Linked DNA regions of Homo sapiens: region 2 is linked to region 1. The links are contacts of gene promoters, found by promoter capture Hi-C in blood cells and fetal thymus (Javierre and others, 2016). All regions are on one chromosome and are shown on one strand. The core of a region is centred on a gene start or on the middle of the fragment in contact, and the rest is flanking DNA. Distances in the headings are between cores, read along the strand shown.

Region 1 (4,298 bases), core at 1,003-3,502:
TCTGTTTCCGCTCCGCCCATTCAAATCCTGGCTTTTCTCTGGACCTCAGCCTCCTTGCCTATGAAATTGAATTAATGGCACCTCCTCCCCTTCGGGCTTGCTGCGAGAGAGGAAGGGCATGAGTGGGTTTACAAGCGCCTGGAGCAGCTTTGTCCATCGTCCGGGCGGCAAGCGTTGTCAGATGGGGTGTGAAGAAGGCGCTCTGTGTTCGCAGGGGCGGAGGAATATGCCAGCTTCCTGCAGGAGGCGCAGGTACCGTTCCTCTCCCTGGAGCGCTGCTCAGCCCCGGACGTGCACGGATCCTCCATCCTCCCCGGCATGCTCTGCGCAGGGTTCCTCGAGGGCGGCACCGATGCGTGCCAGGTGAGCTCTTAGCCCGGTTGGCGCCCTTCCCCGAGGCCGTCAGGCACAAATCTCAGGTCCACAGCGCTGAGCTGCGTGTTTCCGACCCAGGGTGATTCCGGAGGCCCGCTGGTGTGTGAGGACCAAGCTGCAGAGCGCCGGCTCACCCTGCAAGGCATCATCAGCTGGGGATCGGGCTGTGGTGACCGCAACAAGCCAGGCGTCTACACCGATGTGGCCTACTACCTGGCCTGGATCCGGGAGCACACCGTTTCCTGATTGCTCAGGGACTCATCTTTCCCTCCTTGGTGATTCCGCAGTGAGAGAGTGGCTGGGGCATGGAAGGCAAGATTGTGTCCCATTCCCCCAGTGCGGCCAGCTCCGCGCCAGGATGGCGCAGGAACTCAATAAAGTGCTTTGAAAATGCTGAGAAGGAAAGCTCTTTTCTTCATGGGTCCCGCCGGGAAATGCCAAGACAGAAAAGCGATTCACAGCTTCTCCACAGCTCTCAGAGAACAAGGTCTATGAGATCTTAACGTGCAAAATCTAGATGCCAGCCCAGCTAATGTTTACTGAGCCTAGGATACTGTATACCAAGCCCTGTGCAAGGAGAAGCTGCATGTTATTCCTTATGAGAAACTAACATTTTGTTTACAGAGCAGTAGTTCTCAGACCATACATTAAGATCACTTGGGGAGCGTTTTGAGCCAATCTATGCCCAAGTTCCACCTCAGACCAATTAAATCAGTATGTCTAGGGATGGGGCATGGGTAGTGGTATATTTGTAAAACTCCCCAGATAATTCCATGTACAGCCAAGGTTGAGAATCGTGGTTAGAAATACTTAGCATTGGCCGGGCGCGGTGGCTCACGCCTGTAATCCTAGCACTTTAAGAGGCCAAGGCAGGTGGATTGCTCAGGAGTTCGAAACCAGCCTGGGCAACACGATGAAACCCCGTCTCTACTAAAATACAAGAAATTAGCCGGGCACGGCGGCGTGCGCCTGTAGTCCCAGCTACTCAGGAGGCTGAGGCAGGAGAATCACTTGAACCGGCAGGAAGGAAGGAAGGAAGGAACAGAGGGAGGGAAAGAGAGAGACAGAAAGAAAAGAAAAAAGAAAATAGAAAAAAAGAGCATTGACTGTGGCGTGGACCCTAAGGGCTGGGTGACATATCGTTGTCCCCACCCCAACACGCACTAGTGTAGTGGGTCTGAGAGTCCCTTGGCTAGCAGTACCATCACCAGGGAACTTGTTACACATAACAAATTCTCGGGCTACACTTTATACTGCTGAACAGAAAGTCTGGGGTGGGGCCCAGCAATCTGTTTAACAGCCTTGCGGGGGATTCTGATGTTCTCTCATGCTTAAGAACCACAATCTGGGGGTTGAATGGTTGGTTCCCTTACAAGTGAAGGTCTGGCTGTCCAGACACAACATCCTTTTTTCACAAAACCAGCTTTTTAAAATTAAAAATAGATTGGCCAGATGCGGTGGTTCACGCCTGTAATCTCGTCACTTTGAGAGGCTGAGGCGGGAGGATTGTTTGAGCTCAAGACTTCCTGACCCGCCTGGGCAACATAGTGAGACCTCATCTCAAAAAAATTTTTTTTAATTAAAATTTGTTTTTGCTTTTTTAGAGACGGGGCCTCGCTCTGTGGCTCAGGCTGGCGTGCAGCGACACGATCCTATAATAGTTTACTATAATCTCGCTACTGAGTTCAAGCGATCCGCCCGCCTCGGCCTCCCAAAGCGCTGGGATTACAGGAGTGAGCCGCTGCGCTCTGCCAAACCCATCCTACAGGATAACCTTAGAACTGCGACAGCACTAAACGCCCACGCCCCACGTGCCCCAGCCTGGGTGGTCGCTCCGGGACGGCGCCTTGTGTGACGTCACAGCCCCGCCCAGCCTGCCTCACAGCGCCGCAGGCCTTCCCCGCGTGGCGCCTCTATATTTCCCCGAGAGGTGCGAGGCGGCTGGGCGCACTCGGAGCGCGATGGGCGACTGGAAGGTCTACATCAGTGCAGTGCTGCGGGACCAGCGCATCGACGACGTGGCCATCGTGGGCCATGCGGACAACAGCTGCGTGTGGGCTTCGCGGCCCGGGGGCCTGCTGGCGGCCATCTCGCCGCAGGAGGTGGGCGTGCTCACGGGGCCGGACAGGCACACCTTCCTGCAGGCGGGCCTGAGCGTGGGGGGCCGCCGCTGCTGCGTCATCCGCGACCACCTGCTGGCCGAGGGTGACGGCGTGCTGGACGCACGCACCAAGGGGCTGGACGCGCGCGCCGTGTGCGTGGGCCGTGCGCCGCGCGCGCTCCTGGTGCTAATGGGCCGACGCGGCGTACATGGGGGCATCCTCAACAAGACGGTGCACGAACTCATACGCGGGCTGCGCATGCAGGGCGCCTAGCCGGCCAGCCAGGCCGCCCACTGGTAGCGCGGGCCAAATAAACTGTGACCTGGGCGCGGCTGGCTCCTCCTCCACTTGCGCGGTGGGGGGAGTTGTAAATAAGGAAACTGGTCTTTGCAAGACGGTTACCTGGTGGAGCCGGGATTTTGAGTCTAGAGGCTGCCAGGCCCCTGTGCCCTACACCCTGCTCTCCCATGGACGCCTTGCAGAGGCTCCTGGCCTGACTGCTGCTCCTTGGCGCGTTCCCAGGGTCCTAGGGACTCCGCAGCTGAGGAAGAGTCCAAGGGTGGGGGCTTCTCAAAGTCTGTTTCAGCCTTAGCGTCCTTTCTCAGAGATATTCCCACACATTAGGCAGGACAAGTAAAGGGAGCCCCCTCCCCATCCCGCGAACACCTCTCCCCATCAGGGTGTCAGGCTGGAGGCCAATTTGCTCCTCCCCCCTCCACTCATACCTCAAGCACTAGCAAGTTGTGAGTGGGTGACAGGATGGGCTTGGTGGCTTGTAAAGCAGTTCTGGGGCTCACAGGCCTCTGCATCTCTGCCCACATTCCTCCAAGGGGAGCCTACTGAGAGGGCTCATGTCCAAGACCATCGCAATTGGGTTTGAGACCTTACATCCTGCCTTCCCCAGGCCTTCGAAAAGGCCCCGCAGGAGTCCCTGGACTAGAGGGAGGAACTCTGGCATCCCTACCCGGGAGTCTCACTCTGCAGGCCTCAGTTTCAGGGTGACCTATGGAGGAGGGGGAATTGAAAAGCTTGGGTAAGTTTGAGGCCTGGTTTATTGCCCAAAGATAGTGGACAAAAGTGGGAGGGAGGGTGTCTGGTCCCTGCCCTCCATGTGCTGGGGCCCAGGGCATGGCCTCTCTTGCCCACCCCCACCCTTCCCGTCCCCTCCCCCAGCGGCCCTGATGGCAGACCCCACCTGTCACTTATTCTGGAGCCCTGATCTTATCCCAGCAGGAAGGAGTGATGTGTGGCTGAGGTGGGTGAATTTAGAGGGCAGAGGGAGACCAGAGGAAGTTCAGCCAGGTGGGGGTCAGGGGGTGGGGGTGCAGAATCCTCCTTACACTTGCCTTGGGGGTGGCCCCAGGCCTAGGAGGGGCTTCCAGGGAGTTTGAATTGTGGTTTGGACTCACTAAGGTAGGGCCAGGCAGATGGTTGGGGTGAGCCTGCAGGGCTGGCTTCTCTGGAACTGCACCTGGCCTGGGCAGGGCAGGCTGCTCTTGCAGCCAGTCTTTGAGGGGAGATGGTGCTGCTGAACCCCCTGGCTTGGTCTTCCCTTTGCCATTGATGGAGAGCAAAAAGACTTCCGAATGCCTGAGGAGAGTTTTAATTCCTTTGTTTTTTTTCCATCAGGCAAGTGTTGGGAAGGGAATTAATTGTGGTGGTGCCGAAGACCTGGGTTAGGATGAGGAGATGGTATCTTGGAGGAAGGAAGGTGGCAAGGAGGTGTGCAAATTCAGTAACGCAGGCACCAACATCTATGCACAAACAGCTGCACAGTCATATACCCAGACCCACCCTTACTCCTGCCTATCCTAGTCATGT
Region 2 (4,338 bases), core at 1,060-3,559, 330 kb after region 1:
GGCCGGGGTACAGTGTTACTCATCTCGGCTCACTGCAACCTCTGCCTCCTGGGATCAAGCCATTTTCCCGCCTCAGCCTCATGAGTAGCTGGGATTACAGGCACCCACCACCATGCCCGGCTAGTTTTTTTTTGTATTTTTAATAGAGACGGGGTTTCACCATGTTGTCCAGGCTGGTCTTGAACTCCTGATCTCATGATCCACCTGCTTTGGCCTCCCAAAATGCTGGGATTACAGGCGTGAGCCACCATGCCCGGCCAAAATGTAGATATATTTTATTTTTATTTAAAAAAAATTCTTTTTTTTTTGAGACGGAGGGAGTCTTGCTCTGTCGCCCAGGTTGGAGTGCACTGGCGCGATCTCGGCTCACTGCAAGCTTCGCCTCCTGGGTTCATGCCATTCACCTGCCTCAGCCTCCCGAGTAGCTGGGACTACAGATGCCCACCACCATGCCCGGCTAAATTTTTGTATTTTTAGTAGAGACGGGTTTCACCGTGTTAGCCAGGATGGTCTCGTTCTCCTGACCTCGTGATCCGCCCGCCTCGGCCTCCCAAAGTGCTGGGATTACAGGTGTGAGCCAACTTGCCCGGCCAGGAATCCCTCCTCTGTCTGACCTAACTGCCCTCTGCCCTGGAGCTGCTCAGCCTCTATCAATTTTTCTGGCTCTCAGCGAACGTTTTCATTCAGTTGCAAGACACAGAAACTCAAATTCAAACCTGCTTACACAAAATAGTGAATGTACTGGCTCATGCACTTTTTAAAGAGATGAGGTCTGTTGTGCTGCCCAGGCTGGATGTGAACTCCTGGGCCTAAGAAATTCTCCTGCCTTAGTCTCCTGAGTAGCTGGGACTACAGGAGCATGACTGTAAGTCCTGGTGTGAATCAGGCTCCAGAAACAGCTTGATCCTGGTTCCCAACAGTATGGTCAAAACTCATTCTCTCTTCTGTCTTCTTCTCTATGACAGGTGCTCCCTAAGAAGTGACAAAGAAGGCCACTAACAGCTCTGGGCTCGAGACATTCCCACTTGGCAACTTCTCAACTGTTCTGGCAAAAGCCAGGAGAGTGGAGGTCTTCCCCACCCGGACTACATAAGCTGAGGGTGGGGTTTTTCAAAGAAAAGCTTATTATAGGAAGAAGGGTAAACAGACACTAGGAAGCTTCTGATTATTATACCTAGTGATTCTGTGAGCCTTTACTGCACAAACTGTTCCCAAACTTAATTATTTAAAACAATGTATTATTTCTCACAATTCTGTGATTAGCTGGGCTCAGGTGGCAGTTCTGCTTATGCTGTGGATTGGCTATGCTAGAGGGTCTGGGATGTCCTCCCTCACATGTATGGAGCTGGCTGTTGGCTTCTCTCTCTACCTGGTCTGTGGTCGCCACATGGTCTAGCCCAAACTTCCTTTCACAGGGTCAGGAACGGAAGCTGCATGAGCACTTAAGTCCTAACCTTGGAAGTCGTACAGTCATGTTACTGAATTCTCTGATCAAAGCAACTCACAAGACTAGTTCAGATTCAAGAGACTGGGAAATGGACCCCCCCCCTCCCCCGCCCGCCCGATCTTGATGGGAGCAATGATAAAGTCACATTGCAAAAGGACACAGGCACAGGGAGGCAATGATTCATGGGAGGCCATTATTGAAACAATCAACTGTGTTCCACAACTCGCCTCTTCTAGTTCCTTTCACTAAGCCTCCTCCCACCCCAGCAACCTGGCTCCTTTGACCTTCATGACCACTAGAGGATCATCTCCCTCAATAAGTCTTTCCGGCCAGGTGCGGTGGCTCACGTCTGCAATCCCAGCACTCTGGTAGGCCGAGGTGGGAGGATCGTTTGAGCTCAGGAGTTCAAGACCAGCCTGGGCAACACAGTGGGACCTTGTGTCTACAAAAAATAAGATAATTAGCTGGGTGTGGTGGTGTGCGCCTGTAGTCCCAGCTACTCGGGAGGCTGAGGTGGGAGGATCACTTGAGTCAGTGAGGTCGAGGCTGCAATGAGCTGTGTTTGCACCACTGCATTCCAGCCTGTGTGACAGAGTGAGACGCTGTTTCAAAAAACAAACAAAATAAATGTCTTTCCTGTGAAATCCCAGCAATGGTCCCTACCAGACCATACCCATTTTTATTCATTTATTCATTAATGTATTCAATCACCAAGCAGTTATTAAAACATAAGCACAGTCCTATGCTAGGGACCAGGGATGCAGTATCATAAGACCCAATTCCTGCCCTCAAGCAGTTTCTAGTCTAAAAGAAGAGACAGGGAATTAGATCATCGTAACACAGCATATTAAGGGCTATGCTAGAGGGGAACACAGGGCATCTGGGAACACAAAGGGCAGCCAACTTGGCCTTGGGGGCCAGTGATCTCTGGATGAGTGGAGGTCCCCAGGTTGACAAGGGGAGCTGGAGCAAGTATTAGGCAGAAATCTTGGTTGCAAGTTATAGAAACTCAACTGACTTAAAGAAAAGTCATAACTAAAAAGTCCTGGGGGATATTAGCTTCAGGCATAGCTGGATCCAGGTAGTCATCAGAAATGAGTCTCTCCTTATCTGGAGTACAGTGGTGTGATCTCGGCTCACTGCAACCTCCGCCTCACGGGTTCAAGCAATACTCCTGCCTCAGCCTCCTGAGTAGCTGGGACTACAGACGTGCGCCACCACGCCTGACTAATTTTTGTATTTTTAGTAGAGACAGGGTTTCATCATGTTGGCCAGCTGGCCTTGAACTCCTGACTTCAAGTAATCTGCCTGCTTTGGCCTCCCAAAGTACTGGGGTTACAGGTGTGAGCCACCGAGCCCGGCCTCCTCTGTGTTGGCTTAGTTCTGAAGCAGGCTGTCCTTACATGCTGGACACTAACAGCTGAAGACTATGACTGTGATTACTCAGTCGGGTCACAGGCTCACTCCTGGAATCAGAGAGCAGGGCCAGTCCCTCGGAACCACAGGATCTGAGAATGGAGCAGGTTTGTCACCCAAAGGAGAAAAGGAAAAGAAGGGCTGTGGAGCTGGCCTGACATCAGGTGTACTTCTAGACAGGTGACTAAGTTACAGCCCTCAAACAGAGAGGGCCTCCTGAGGGAAATGTCCTGAGGGAAGGGGAAATCGGCCTTGGGAATGAGCAGAAGTGCTAAGATCAAATCTCTCTCCAAGGCTACTTCTTGGTTGTGTAAGCTCTGCAAGACTTTGTCCCTGACTTTCTCCTGTGAAATCAAGTCTTTGCCAGTTGTCCTGAGGGTTAACTGAAATAGCATATACAGGGGCTCGTGAAGTCACCCTGTTCTCTTCCCATTAAATCAAACAGTAAAGTCCCAGGGCTGGTCTACCTTGCTAGAAAAAAGAAGCTGACTCCACCTAGTGGCTAATGGGGTCATTGCACTGAAGAGTTGAACATTTACAGAACTGCGTTCTGATATTCCTAGACAGATGAAGCAGCATATATGAACAGTAAGCTTGGGAGAGACAGGCCGGGGACGGGTCTGCCCTGTCTCTGTAACAGGGCTTTGCACAGGGCAGAGAGGTGAGGTTAGGTGGATGGATGGTCAGAGGGAGAAAGTGTTCTTCCTATTGTATTTTACACTAGTGACTGCTCATCAGAGCATCTGGTTTGGGGGTGGGGACAGCTCATCTGGCAGGGACTGCTGTGAGGGAAGGAAGGGCTTTCTTCTTCTTCTTCTTTTTTTTTTTTTGAGACAGAGTCTCGCTCTGTCGCCCAGGCTGGAGTGCAGTGGCACGATCTCAGCTCACTGCAAGCTCCGCCTCCCGGGTTCATGCCATTCTCCTGCCTCAGCCTCCCGGTAGCTGGGACTACAGGCACCCGCCACTACGACCAGCTAATTTTTTGTATTTTTAGTAGAGATGGGGTTTCACCGTGTTAGCCAGGATGGTCTCGATCTCCTAACCTTGTGATCCGCCCACCTCAGCCTCCCAAAGTGCTGGGATTACAGGCGTGAGCCACCGCGCCTGGCGCCTGGCCCCTTTTTTCTTTCTTTCTTTTTTTTTTTTTTAAGAGGCTCCCATTATGTTGCCCAGGCTGGATTTGAACTCCTGGGCTCAAGCGATCCTCCTGCCTCAGCCTCCCGAGCAGATGGGATTGCAGGCACGTGCACCACACCTGGCTTAGGGCTCTGGGAGGAAACTCTACCTGTTCATTGCTACTTCTTCAGGATTTGAGCTGGGAACTGTGATTTCTTCTAACTTCCACTTCACAAGGCCTCAGGTCACATATAGCTGGTGGCAGTGCTCAGACCAACACTTAGGGCTCCTGAATCCCAGGCCCTTGTCCCTCATGCCACCCCTCATTGGCTGCTATACAGGTACATGTCTAGATCTGT

The links. Contacts are between HindIII fragments. The CHiCAGO score rates a contact against its expected background, and 5 or more counts as called.
Region 2: a fragment that was not itself captured here is called in contact with the fragment with the promoter of PFN3 in region 1 in 1 of 17 cell types (erythroblasts); the score reaches 5.2 in erythroblasts.

What each region holds. Positions count from the first base shown.
Region 1 is chr5:177,398,615-177,402,912 of GRCh38, reverse strand. PFN3 (profilin 3) reads left to right here and starts at 2,252. Exons shown (of 1, transcript NM_001029886.3): 1 at 2,252-2,804. The coding sequence starts at 2,337. The coding sequence ends at 2,750. It overlaps SLC34A1 (solute carrier family 34 member 1), which reads right to left. Exons shown (of 13, transcript NM_003052.5): 13 at 4,065-4,298. It overlaps F12 (coagulation factor XII), which reads left to right. Exons shown (of 14, transcript NM_000505.4): 13 at 215-363; 14 at 454-772. The coding sequence ends at 621. RefSeq lists an enhancer at 86-943. The HindIII fragment of the contact is 6,138 bases long and covers 1-3,507 here.
Region 2 is chr5:177,071,040-177,075,377 of GRCh38, reverse strand. It overlaps a transcript of ZNF346 not described here. Among named protein-coding and RNA genes, the nearest start is that of FGFR4, 14 kb to the left of the region's middle. The HindIII fragment of the contact is 2,298 bases long and covers 1,161-3,458 here.